5 separate regions of the Homo sapiens genome follow, and all the other regions are linked to region 1. Evidence: promoter capture Hi-C in 16 types of primary human blood cells and fetal thymus (Javierre and others, 2016). All regions are on one chromosome and are shown on one strand. Each heading gives the region's core, a stretch centred on a gene start or on the middle of the fragment in contact. The rest is flanking DNA. Distances are from core to core; before and after follow the strand shown.

Evidence for each region. The method cuts DNA at HindIII sites, captures the fragments that hold promoters and counts their contacts. A CHiCAGO score of 5 or more calls a contact.
Region 2: a fragment that was not itself captured here is called in contact with the fragment with the promoter of DSG4 in region 1 in 1 of 17 cell types (monocytes); the score reaches 7.1 in monocytes.
Region 3: a fragment that was not itself captured here is called in contact with the fragment with the promoter of DSG4 in region 1 in 3 of 17 cell types (M1 macrophages, monocytes and M2 macrophages); the score reaches 6.2 in M1 macrophages.
Region 4: a fragment that was not itself captured here is called in contact with the fragment with the promoter of DSG4 in region 1 in 1 of 17 cell types (M0 macrophages); the score reaches 5.4 in M0 macrophages.
Region 5: a contact is called between a fragment that was not itself captured here and the fragment with the promoter of DSG4 in region 1, in 1 of 17 cell types (monocytes). The highest score is 5.1, in monocytes.

What each region holds. Positions count from the first base shown.
Region 1 is chr18:31,375,452-31,378,151 of GRCh38, forward strand. DSG4 (desmoglein 4) reads left to right here and starts at 1,326. Exons shown (of 16, transcript NM_177986.5): 1 at 1,326-1,508. The coding sequence starts at 1,461. The region is part of intron 1 of DSG1-AS1 (DSG1 antisense RNA 1); the gene reads right to left. The HindIII fragment of the contact is 4,758 bases long and covers 1-2,427 here.
Region 2 is chr18:30,962,450-30,965,149 of GRCh38, forward strand. No RefSeq gene overlaps it. Among named protein-coding and RNA genes, the nearest start is that of DSC3, 79 kb to the right of the region's middle. The HindIII fragment of the contact is 2,065 bases long and covers 300-2,364 here.
Region 3 is chr18:31,021,875-31,024,574 of GRCh38, forward strand. It overlaps DSC3 (desmocollin 3), which reads right to left. Exons shown (of 16, transcript NM_001941.5): 6 at 2,475-2,619; 7 at 462-628. Among named protein-coding and RNA genes, the nearest start is that of DSC3, 20 kb to the right of the region's middle. The HindIII fragment of the contact is 1,811 bases long and covers 416-2,226 here.
Region 4 is chr18:30,997,544-31,000,243 of GRCh38, forward strand. The region is part of intron 14 of DSC3 (desmocollin 3); the gene reads right to left. Among named protein-coding and RNA genes, the nearest start is that of DSC3, 44 kb to the right of the region's middle. RefSeq lists an enhancer at 1-217. The HindIII fragment of the contact is 2,840 bases long and covers 1-2,700 here.
Region 5 is chr18:31,056,763-31,059,462 of GRCh38, forward strand. DSC2 (desmocollin 2) reads right to left here. Exons shown (of 16, transcript NM_024422.6): 16 at 2,078-2,700. Among named protein-coding and RNA genes, the nearest start is that of DSC3, 15 kb to the left of the region's middle. The HindIII fragment of the contact is 982 bases long and covers 883-1,864 here.

The sequences.
Region 1 (2,700 bases), core at 76-2,575:
AACAAAAGATAGAGACCTTTGTGAAATATCTCCTTCAAACACAACAATAGAGAAGAATGTTGTTTTTCCCTTGTAAAAAGCAATGTCACTTAAAGACCTGGAGTTGTTTCATTAATTCTCTTAGGCAAATTAAATTATCTAATTCAACATGACATGAAATAATGCAAAAGTAAATTACTTTATCTGGCTTCCAAAAATACTAAAACTACTTTTCTCAAGAAACTAAGCAATACTTAGAATACATTCTATTACCAGGGTCAACCTTGTTTCTGAATTACAGTGATGGGATAGTGAAGACAGGAGGCAGTCTCCCTTTGAAATTCTCCAACCAACATGTATTATCTATCAATCAGAGAACAGTTAACTGCATTTTCTTTTAAGTTTATTGATGTTGCTGCCAGCCTGCAATGTTTGCATCAGGACACTCTATACCCTGTTTCAAACCCATACTAACAAAGGAAAAGGGAGACACGAAAAAGGGAAATAATATTCAAAAATATCCAGATCCCACTCTGGGCTTTTTTTCATTAAATTCTCACGTTTCCAACTTCAGTTTCTCCTTAATAAATATTTGTGGTGGTGTAAAATGTGTTCCTCACCCACATTATGTACTTTTTATCAGTGGTAATACTATGAGAAGTGAGAATGTTGTATTGTAGTTACTTTAAAATGATTTTGTAAATATCATATTGTAGAGGTTTGACTGAATAATCAAGAAAGAAAATGCCAAAGTATGGAAACAAACATACTGGTACTAGTTAAATCAGAGTTCCTTCATCTTAACTTTGTTATTTCAGAAAATCTTTAAAATTGAGAGTGCGGTTCAACCACAAGACATTTTAAAGAGAGAAGCAGGACTCAACTGAATTGAAATGAGCGTCATTATTCTATCTTTCTTCCTATACCATACTTGAGTCCTGATGACTTTCAACAATGGCCTCTGCTAAAAGTATCATTCCTTGAAGTGGGTTCTGCAGTGGACATGTGTGTGTATGTGTTGTCAGTATATGTAATTTTGCTTTTACAATGTTGGCAGTAAGAAGAAGCCTTCTAATTTTATTCAGCATGATGATAGGCCCTAGCATTTTAATTATTTTTTATGTTGTGAGTAATTTATTATTCACTGGCTATCTTCCCTGTAAATCTTGTCCTCGCTCTGTAAGGTTTTTCTTTGGTGTCCAACAAAGGGTTTCATTGCAATAAGAATCAAGGTGTGTCTAAATTCTTACCCAGAGCCCAAACAATGCCAGTCTTCCAGACCAGCCTGGGAGTTTGGGGTGGGGAAACAGTCATTATAGAATATCTTCATCTCTCTGCCCAGAGATCACCACAGTTATCACCCATGCCCTCCTAAAAGGGTGTCTCAAAGCATATCTTTCTGTAGAGCAGAATTCGGAACTGAGAAGACGAGGGCTCAAATTGAATCTCACAGGATTTGCGTGCAAGAGAAACCCAAAGGAATGGATTGGCTCTTCTTCAGAAACATTTGCCTTTTGATCATTCTAATGGTAAGTAGAATTTAAAGAGGTGGGAAGGAAATGCAGCCTCAAGGTCTTGTCTCTGTCAACTGTCGGGCTTTCTACATGGGATTTATTCCATTTTTAATCTCCTTCCTGCAAAGAGAGTTCTAGAAGTCCAGCCTCTGTTAATTTCAAACAACTCTCTCCGCCTTGAGGAACAAAATGCCATAGAGAAGCGGGGTGAGAATCTGGCTGAATTAAATTTATATGCCCTCAGAGACATAATCTACTTCACTTTGAGTGTTAGGACTATTCTAAAATTTTAAATTGGAAATAAAATTCATATTCTATGATCATATAAATAAATCAGATAGATTGCTGTGAAAACTGCCAGTGCAAATGGGTTCTAAATTTGAAGGGAAGTTAATCAAACCCATTTCTTTTCAATAGTTATTTCCCTATGAGTTTCTTTCAAAGTGGAGGAATGATAGCCATGTTGAAATTACATTGCAACTAATGATGACATACTAAAGTCATGAGAACTTTTTCCAGTCAGATATTGCTAAAGAAAAATGAAGCCCAGCCATCAAGACAAAACTTTTCTGGAATTATGAATGCATTCCTACAGACCAGCAAAGAAATATTTAAATGACTTATTTCTTTACAGTAAACATGGCATCTTGGATATTATATTTCTTTCCTCTAACCTTTGGGTGCCCAAGGTGTGACATGATTTCCAGACAGGCAGCATGCATAGCAAATATCCTACCCTAGAAAGAGATAATTCCAACTCCAAAGAAGAACAAAGTTCCAGTTGGCCAATCAACAAACTATTGCCAATTCTGGGAGGGTAAGAGGACAGGATTATTAGGAACTGTACAAATTTTTCAAAGTAAATTAAGACAAATGCATTATAGTTGGCCACACTTCAATCTCCCAGGAGTATCCAGGTTAGCGCTACAACCTAAGCTTAGAAAGTGATTCCCATCCTATTCTTAGGCAAGTGGCAATTATACCAGACTCCTCTGAACATCAGTTGTAAGAGACAGAGAGTAGCTAGGGCTGGGAGAGATGGGAGCACGTCATTGTCCAAGAGGCACAGTGAGAGCTACTCTTCTGGAATTCACATTTCTAAACTTCAAGAGCAGTGCGGGAGCCGAACACTGCCAAAGGGCACACAACCCCAAGCTCAAAAGGGAACGTGACAACAGTGGTAGAATATTGCATCCTCTGAGTTTAG
Region 2 (2,700 bases), core at 82-2,581, 410 kb before region 1:
GGTGATAAGGATTTGAAAAACCTTGCTTTCTCCTTCCTAACATGGTTTAGCTCCAGCCTGAATATTTCTTGAGTTCTTGATGAAAGCAAAATTATATCAGTCAGTGATTCAGATATAACTTCATGTTTGGAGGAGAGAGTTGTTTCCTAACAGCCACCTGAAACTCTAAGCTAACTTGCTTCTCCCTATTATAAATATGGAATTCTACAAAATCATCTGTCTCCCCTGGACCCCTATCCTAGCTACAGTTTCATTGTCACTCTTCCAGGTCCTTCTGGTTTGATACTAGTATCTTTCCAAGCTTCTGTTTAGTCTCTTCAATCTTGAGACATTGTTTCCAGACGTTTCCCTCATTTCCCCTTCCTGTCTTAATTCACACTTCCTTCCAGGAATTATCCTAGCCATACACTTTCTGCTTATAATAATTCTGTCTTCCTTCAATAAGTTTTTGTGATATTATAAAAATAACATTCCTAAGATCAATATGTTCATCTAGATATAGATGAAGAAATCTGTTAACTTGTTAAAATAGGTATTTTGGTTTTCTTTGAATTGTGCAGAAGAAACAACGTTCCACCGCCTATAAAGCAGTGCTTCTCAAACCTGATTGTGTAGAGGAGAACAGATTTTTTTCTCACCCATCATAAGGTGCATTGCTGACTCCTCATGACAAAAGGCAGTTGTTCATGTCATGGCAGCCTTCAAAAATGAAGACAGAAAGACCCAGGGAAAACCATGTATTGTTATGGACAGTCATGCAGAAGTTTGAATGGTAAGAAATTGAAGGGAAGTTGACAAGGTTTGTTTGTCCAGATCCTTCTTGGTGTTTCTGAGTGACATGCCTTTCCTCCGGTTTTAGGGCAGGACACCTTTCAAATGAGGGTGTTCAGAGGAGAAGCAGCGGAATAGATGGGAGAGGTTTCCTAGGTCTTATGACCTGCTTCAGGGGATAATGGAGGAGGAAGAGTGAGAGTGGCCTTCCTGCTTCTGCTGGTTCCTCAAATGCCAAAGAGCCCTATTTTGGGGTAGCACTTTCTGCACCACATCAACCACACACAAGAAATACATGCTGGGGCCCAAGGCCCACCTCAGGGGCTCTGATTTAAATGACTTTGGGTGAAGCCCAGTCATCTGTATTTTTAAAGTGATTCTGATATACAATCAAGGACAAAAATCTGTTGTAATGTGTTAGATTATAGAACTCTGGGTAAAAAGAGCAGCCCTGAGTAAGGAAATTACTACCAGCTCAGGTTCAGTAGAGACAAAGAAAGTACTGAGAACAGATGTTCTGAGGTAGACTTGCATGAGAAGAGGCAACAAAAATAGTCAGGGAAGCTGGGAACCAGGGAACAGGGTAGACTGTCAATGTTGAAAGAATTTAAAGGCCATTTGTGAACAATTTATACTCAAAACTAAGGACAGAATTAGTAACAGGAAGATGTTAAGGATGTATTTAATGACTTAAACTAGGAGCAGAGTGTAAACTAAGATAATGAGTCAGGCCGAAATCAAATAAAAGAGATAATAAACCTACTCTTAGAAAGAGAGATGATCAAAATTAATGCCAAATCTAGTTAGTAAAAGGAAAAAAAAAAAAAAAAAAACCAAGAAAACAAAAAGAAACCTTCCCTAGCCCCCTGAGACTACCTCTACCATCTATCTCTTCCTCTTCCCTCCACAGCCCAGGCAGCATGGCTAAGAAATACGGTCCTATTTTTAATACTTCTTTGCCTCCAGGTACTCATCCACTTGTCCACTCACAGTGGTCGGCTTTCCAGAACAAGGACTCCAGAGCCACTCTCACTAGGTTCATCTGTGACCTCTTTATTGCGATATTGCATGGGCCTCTTTCAGTAATCTTATGGGGACTCTCAAGCAGACTTTGTCAGAGTTGATTGCTCTCTTATTGAATTCCTCTCTCTTCCCTTGGCTTCTATGACATATCATCCTACTGGTTATCCTCCTATATCCTGGAAAAATCTTATTTTTTCACCTTAGTGTTCTCTTCTTACTTTTCTCAGGATCTGTCTTTAGCCCACCTCACACTCCACACTATACCCAGGCATTTTTATCAACTCCTGTGGTTCAACTGTTCTCAGAAGGCTGATGATGCACACATCTTTGTCTCCTGTACAGACACCTCCTCCAAGCTATAGAACTTGCATGTTCTCTCAGATTTTTCATGGGCACATTTACACTCAATATGTTCAAAACTGAGTTCATGATCTTTCTCTAAATTCTTATGATCAGATTCCCTTAGTCACCAATGTCAGAATTAATAAATCATTCTTGATGTTTTTTCTCCCTCTCTCCCCTATGCAAAATGCATAATCCTCCTCCACAAGGTATGGTCTAAGGACAAGAAGCTTTGACATCACCTGGGAGCTTGTTAGAAATGCAGAATCTCAGGCCTCACTTCAGACCTATTGACTCGGAATCTGTAGTTTTCAAGATCTTCTGGGTATTCTTACATACAGTAATGTATATACACTGCTCTGAAATTCACACCTTAAAAATGCCTCAAATTCAACTCCCACTCTTTATCTCTGATGTAACTATCATAAGCTGAGCTGTGGGTTCTCAAAACTTGCTGCATAGTACAATCCCTTGGGGTTTTTTTTTGTAAATACCAATGCCAGGTTCTAGACCTCCAGATTCTGATTTAATTCATCCAGAGTGGAGCCCAGGAATCTGTAAGTT
Region 3 (2,700 bases), core at 71-2,570, 350 kb before region 1:
CTATCATCCAAAAAAGTGTTTCATATTTTTAATAATCCATCAATTTTATTTCAACTAATCCTTTCCTCACTAAAAGTATATATATCTATAATAATTAAAGTAGAAATCAGGGCATGATCCACACTCATAGAACAAGCAAAATTAATTGTCCTACATGAAAATTGAAACCTTTGCTGAACTGGAACCAACTAGCCACACATAAGAAAAAAAAATTTATAATGAAATTTTTTCTTTTCTCATCCCTTCTAAATGCCAATTGATCTGCGTTTCTAGTCCTTATGGCTACTCTAACATAAGGAAATAGAAATAATATAAAAAACAGAAAAAATTGTTAGGAATTCTTATTGTCTTATGCCTAAAATAAAATTAAACTATTAATCCACAGGATAGCAAGTTATAATAAATGGGGGAGGGAAGCTTAATCCTCAGCGAAATGAAATTCTATGGAGTGTGTGAGCTACCTCTCTGTCCAAATAATGAGAGACTGTGGTGATTACGCCTGTGCTGGGATGCACAGAAAAGAGCCCAGGTGACCTTGGTGTCTGCTGCAAAATGCTGTATTTCAGGCGCGTATGCATTGTGTCCGGTTCATCTCTGTCTGTGGCACAAACCACCCCCACTGTAGTACCTACACATTAAAAAATAAAACAGCCTTTAATTTACAGAATTGTTAAATATACTTTCAAAAGTATCTACAATCTTAAAATGTTAACAGTGATGATAGAAACCTAATCTAAAATGTATTTATTACCAGAGTATTATTTCATCTTTAGATAGGACTGAAGAGGATAACTTCAAATTTATCACACATAACACTTTGATGCTGAAAATTAAGGTATACTTTTGCTCACAGTTTAACACATTTGATCATAAATCACTAAATAAATTAGTTAAATGGCAATCAAAATTAATTGGAATACATATGTGCACATATTTCAATAACAAACCTAGATGGAGGAATAAACCATGTCTCCTTAATAATCAGATTTTTTAAAAATTGGACTTTTGATTAATAGCTAAATCAAGACTGATTAGGGGTATGCAGTAATAATATAGATGATCAAGTTGACCTTTAGTAGTCCAGCCTCTCCTTTCTATAATCTTTTTGCTACTTCCTGATTTGATTTGTTTTAATAAACCGGTTTAGTATCACAGCCTTAACTGGTCTGAACCTACTGATAAAATGTGCTTAAAGTACCTTGGGTTAAGCTGGGCATCGAAGTGTTTGTCCTTTTTTTTTCTCTGTTACTGTAAAAGAGAACAGACTCCTCAAGAAAGCCTGAAACTAATTACCCCTTTTTGAAAAAGGGAAAGCATACCCCATTGCTAATTAATTAAAGGCAATATAATGTCAATGTAATGTCATAGAATTGTGAGGCTAAAAACATTGTAGGTCATGTAATGTAATGAACTCCTTTTACAAGTAAGAAAACTCAGAGGGACTTCCATGAGTTTCCACAGTGAGTTAGTAACACACCCTACATCAAAAACGATGTTTTCTATGCTTTAGTGGCCATTTTATTATCTGTGTGTATTCCATAACATCATGTTGTAAACCTTCACTACACACAATAAAATTTATTTAAAAAGAAACAAAACTAGGTTTCCTAAACTCCAAACCAATAATTTTTTTAAATTTTTAAAATTGTACCACGTGAGTAATAAAGAGGTTAACATCTATGACATCAGATTAACAAAGGAAAACATAAAGGGAAAAAGCAGATATAATATTGCAGTGAAGATCTAAGCAACTACTGGAAACTTTAAAAAGCAAATTAGGAAAGTCATCCTTTATGACTGAATCCTCCTTCTTTTAACTTTATTGTGAGGGGTTATTCTCCATATTACAAGTCTCAGAAGCCATCGTAAGTGCCACATTTTAAGGGCCAGGTAAACTAAAATACTTCAGTTTTCCACATGTAAGAGCAAGTGTTTAGAATAGAGAACATTTGATGTAAGTTTCTCTGAAGTTATTCCGGTATTCATTCTAAATTGGAAGTAGTGAGGTAGTAGTTTTAAAAGAAGATAATATAAATAGGAGCATAAAAAAAACTGTACCCTTAGTGGATGTCATTTAACACCTTCCTAAATAAAAGCTCAAAGAAAAAAACTATACCGATTTTAGTTTTATTGTTCATTCCACCCTGCATGTCCTCTCTTGGAGTTGAGAATAATGAAAAACCCACGAGGAAATGAAATAAAATATATAAACTGAATATTACACAAAGCTTGAATAACTGTTAGCTCCCTTTACAGTTAATTAGTATCATATTGACAATGACAGAAACTTCTGTACTATCTGGGCAAGGCACATGTTGATTGAAAGTGATGGGATTAAGTGTTTTCTGGTAAGTAGATTCTAGTTCAGCGTTATCTCAGGCTGATCTGGCCTTGAGTATAAAAAGCTCTATGTCTTTTAAAATGTACACAGACATATTTAAAATGATTCTTTTTATTCTTAAAAGCAGACTTACCAGGTCTACTACTTTCCAAAACTTCAAAATTATAAATTGCTTCTGTGAAAACAGGGTGGTTGTCATTTTCATCCTCTACCCTGATGGGTAGTGGGAGGGGCAGATCTGCTGAATATCCATCTGCAGTTGACGCATAAGCAATCAACTGCAAAATAGCAAAAAGAAAGTTCCATTAATATCAGATCCCGGCAAGACAGAATAAGATGCTTTATCTACTACCTGCCTT
Region 4 (2,700 bases), core at 66-2,565, 380 kb before region 1:
CTGTTGCATTGGGGATTAAGTTTCCAACATATCAGCTTTTAGGGACAAATTTCACCATAGCAAATGCAAAAGCCTAGGGATATAAAGATAGACATAGTCTCTCGATGGCTCCAAGAAGATCTTATTCCAGGGAGAGAGAAAAACAAATACTTTGAGAATGTGATTACTCTACTATGTGGGTGAGCACAAAATGTTACAAGAGCACAGAAGTAGAGCATTAAAATTCAAATCCAAACAGGGTAGGTGGAATAGAACAGGTAACTGGAAAAACTCTGAGCTAAGAGACTAGGGACTAGTAGGAGTGGGACAAACAAGGCAACCACTGTAGAAGGGTCTGGAGGCAAAAGGCAAACAATGTCCTTCAGGGGTCCCCAACTTCAATCAGTTGAGAACAGCTACCACATAAGATTAGGGTTGGGGGGAGTTAGAAAGGTTATAAAAGGCCATAAGATATAAAGATCTATATGCTATGCTAAAAAAATAGACTTTATTATGAAGATCACAGGGACTGTGAAGAATTTTAACTCATTACAGAGAGAAACACATTTCAAAAATATCATTCTAGGCAATAATGTGGAAGACAAATAAGAAGACAAATTTAAGTTCATGGAGATCAGATGGGGGTCACTGCATCTGATCTGATCTGATATTCCAGGTAAAAATGATAAGGACCTAAGCCAAGGAGGAAGCAGTGATGACTGAAAGAAGTAGATGGACTCCACAGAGAGCCTACAAGTATCTAGATGGATGAGGCAATCAAGGACAGAGTTAGAAATTATTCTTTTGTGTTCCATGAAGGCAAACAGGTAGATGGTACAACTCACTGAAACAGGGAGGAAAGATGTGCTTATGGGCAAGAGGAGAGTGAGCAACTAAAGTTTGAACATGGTAAACATTAGAAACATGTGGGATGTCCAAGATGAATATATGAATATGCGGATTTGGAACTCAGATGAGAGATTTGAGCTGGAGATATAATTCTGGGAGACACTCCCAAATAGGTGATAGTTGAGGCCATGGGAATAGAGGACCTATCCAGAGAAAATTGTCAACCAAAATAAAAAAGGGCTAAGGATAGAACCACAAGAAAAATCACATTTTAAGGGGAGGGTAAGAGAAACACAGCTGTGACAGGCCAGATCTGAATAGCCACTGAGATAACAGAGAAAACCAAAGTGGCAGGACCCTGAAGCCATGAAGAGAGAATATGGTAAGGAGTGGGAGCAGCCAATGATGTTAACAACAACAACAGAAAAATCACAGCAAGGTAAGAATGGGTTCAATTAAAGTATAAGCGCCCATTGGATTTAAGTGAAAGAATAGCCATTGATGAGCTTTGCCAAAAGAATTTCCAGGGAGTGCTGGGTAAGCAGGAAGGAGTATTATAGAGAAATCAAATATAATTTTTTCTTTCCTAAAGTTCAGTTTGAAAGAAAAAGAGAGATGTGGAGGGAACTAGAGGATGACAAAGAGTCAAGGAAATGCTTTAAAATGAAAAAGTCTTCATTAAACATTAACTTAATACTGGAACTTCACTCCGACCCTCTGAGCCATAGGACAGAAGTTTAGTTACAGTGGTAACCTCGACATGTCAGTTTTCATTACAAACAGTTACATTACTTTCAGGACAAGAACCTCCATTACATTCAGGTTCCTTTGTGCCACCTTCCTATCAATTTAAATTTTTTTCTACTTAAAATGCAGTCTTTAACTAAATTGAAAGATTTTTCAAATACAGATGATTTATTGAACCTGAAATATATCTACAAAAGTCATACTTACTGTCGCATTGCCTTAGAAAAAAATACCAGAAAAAAAGAATTGAAAAGTAGCCATTTGGTGGCAGTGCTACCCTACATTTTTTTATTTAAGTTGCCATTACAATAAAATTCAATTACAAAAAAGGAAAAAAAAAAACCCTCCTAATTATTAAATCTTCTTGATGGTATAATTTCGTTGTAATAAACACAAGTTCAAAGATCATATTTCTAAGTGAATAAAAGAGGAATTTAAAATAAACTAAAAGCAATGCTGAGCCTACAGGGCTAGCTTTCATACTTTTATTCTCTGCTCCTTTCTGTCCTCCTCCATCCACATTTCCCAAAGTTCCTTCTCACAGGGTATCAACAACTCTTTATCCATGTCAATAATTTCTAGGTTTACTTTTCCAGTCCTGATTATTCACCCAACTCCTAATCCCATGTGCATGCCTTCAAGTGAAATTCAGATCCAAAGCTAAAATGATCACTTTTACTCATTGTATTAAAGCAAGTTTATAGATTCAAGATGAAATTTTATGTTTTTGTATAAATTAATAATTCCAAGCCCCTTTTAGAAGTGTTCCTAACACAGAACAGGTACATATTGTGAAATGGCCACTCAATATCATCAGCTCTAGCATTAAATGGCAAAGAACAGATATTAAGTAAAAGTCATCCATGCCGGTCTTAAAAATAAAATAAGAACTTACTATGAGTCAAGGACTGTCAAGGGATTAAACCTGCTTTCTCGCTGGAGAGATCATCACAGGTTTCTACATGTAGGCACGTCAAGCATAGATGGGCTATGATTTTGCATGGTGGTGTGGAGGAGTTGAAGAGAGAAATAGTGAATAAGAAAGGCATCTTCACCCCGAGACATAGAAAAGGCTGGATATGTAGTCGTTGTCCCTGGCTATAGCCTCTGCCACTTTGACTCTGC
Region 5 (2,700 bases), core at 124-2,623, 320 kb before region 1:
ATAAAAGAAAATATGAAAGTCCATCTATAGTGTTAAGCTTTATCTTAGCATTGTATTAGAATGCTAAGAGGACAATTAGGTGCAACATAATGAATCTAGTTTTCCAGTCTGCTTTTTCAAAAGCTTTAGAACATTATTTAAATGTGCTGTTCCAAGATGAAACATATTTTAATGCAGAGGGCACAAATGCCTAATCCTCAATCCCTTTCTCTTAAAGAAAATGTTTAGAAATGTTAACGTTTTAATTAAAAAAATGATTAAAACTGAAAGTGTTGCCTTTTTTTTTCTTTTCTGCTTAAACCTAAAATGTATTGCAGGGTTAAAATTATTAACGTTATTCTTGGAAGAAATAGCATATCTAATTATAATTGTAGAAAATGAAGTTGTATCTGCGAGTTAAATCCTGCTCTGGTCTCCAGGAAAGCATCCAAATTATTTCATCATCCTAGACCTTATTGTTTACAGCCGTGTGAGACTATGAATCCATCAACCATACAGAGGGTTTCAGGATTATTTTTATTATGTAGAAGCGTTCTTATAATCGTATGTATCTTCATAAGATTTCTATGTGTTAGGCAACAAAGAGGAATTTAAATTAACTGATGATTGTATAAAAATTTTGTGTGAGTTGCATTAACATAACTGAAAATGACTGGTATTTGGGATTTTCTTTCTTTTATTTTTGCAAAGAAACTTCAACCACCATAATGAGGACAACTAAAACAGGAGATTGTCTGTATTGCCCTCATTATAAGACAGTATCTATTGTTTCTGCTTCCTATTTCACTGCATGCCTATCGAATCTGTAAACTTCTGATATCCTTCCAATACATTCTCTCACACTCCCGAGATAACCAAATTTGCCTTCTGTTGCCTTTGAGAAGCTTTGCTATGACATAAGTATGTTAACTTTGTGTTTGCTATGACATAAGTATGAAACACATTATTAACTCTGTGTTTTTCTGCTAGTTTTCTTACTAGAAGGCATGTAGTAACTGCATTATGTTTTTAAAACTTTTGGGTTTAGATTTGTATTTCTTTCAGATATCATACCGCACTGAGATTGACCTTTAAACTGGAATAAGTAGGACTTCGAACACCACTAAACCTGTATCAGCTCTTCTAATAGGAAATTTCTGCAGAAAGGGAGAGTTATTGTGAAAAAAAAACTTATTGTCTTTAAAATGTTAATTTCATCTGCTGCAGTATTACTAGTATGATAAAGATGGTTATTAATGACTAGAAGTATGGCCGGAGGTTCCTTTCCCAAGTGCTCACTTTTGTTAATCCTATAATTCAGATTCAAATGAAATAGGCTGTGTCCCATTCCCTGTGTGGAGGGATATTAGAGTGCTCCCGGACTGTCTAGGTATTCTAGACAGCCTGTTGTAGTTTTCTGCCTACACACCGCTCTGATCTCTTCCTTCCTCTTGATTAACTCAATTTTCTGTTACATATTCCTAGAGAGCTCCACCCGATTCCACACTGCAACACCCCAGGTGTGAAATACAGCCTCCATTTCTTGTTTTCCACAGAAAGCCCCATGCACATAAGGCATCTAAGTGAGTAGCAAACTTATTGAAGTTTGAGGCAGTGGAAAGAAAAGATCTTCCTCTGAAAACTCTGGACATTTGGTGGAGTCACACCTCAGCAAAGGACTTAAGTTAGCCCTAAAGTCTCCACCAAACCTGCCCTAAGAAAACTTAAGAAGAAACCTCAAAAGGACTCAATTTATTTGTTTAATAAATAACTTAAACTGCCGCCGGAACAAGGCTCAACAAGTAACAAAATTGATTTTGTTTATTATAATAAGGTAAAATTCCCAATGTCCAGCACTAACTTGTTTACAATTTTAAAACAAGCAAGCTTTTGACAGCTTTCTTCCCTGAATGATAACAGAAACTCACAGTACACCTGGCTCCCCACAGGAGGACATTTGCCATTGATTCCAAAGGAATTCTGTAATGATGTAAATGTGAAGGGATTGGGACATCTCTTGCTAAAAAAGGTCACACACACACACACACACACACACACACACGCACACGTAATATTTGTAAGAACATTCCATTACAGATTTTTTGTGGCACTTTTTAATAGTACGTCTCCGTGAACATATTATATCACTTCTGGGACTACATATTTTTGAGAGCAGAGGCCATATCTTACATACAGTAGATACCAAATAAATTTTAACACCGAACATTTACATAGAACTATGTTCTAGCAATTTTTTAAAGCAGATGAGGAAACTGAAGACTAGGGAGGTTCAGGTTACACAGATGGTTTGTGGTAGAGCCCAGATCTGAACCTTGCCTGTTGGGCCCCAAGGGACCCAAAGTTCAGGCTCTATCCCAGACCGCTCTGTTAGGTTGCATGGAGAATGCGATGCATTGTGCAAAGATTAACTGTGATTGTGTCTACTACAGGAGAAATAAGGAGCAGCTTAGCTTGCTAAAAAGTGAACACATTTAATTGGTTTAAACTTGCATTCATTATGCAAACTTTGCTTGAAATATTTCATTTGACAATTCTAGTAAATTAATACCTATTCTTAGTCTAGATAGTGCATAACAAATTACTGACGACAAATCCTAAGTGCGTTAAAGTAAAATTTTAAGACCAAAAGCACATGAATGCACTCAGTTATGATAATGTGAGATGATACAGTATTTTCTTTTTGCTTTCAATTTAATCATT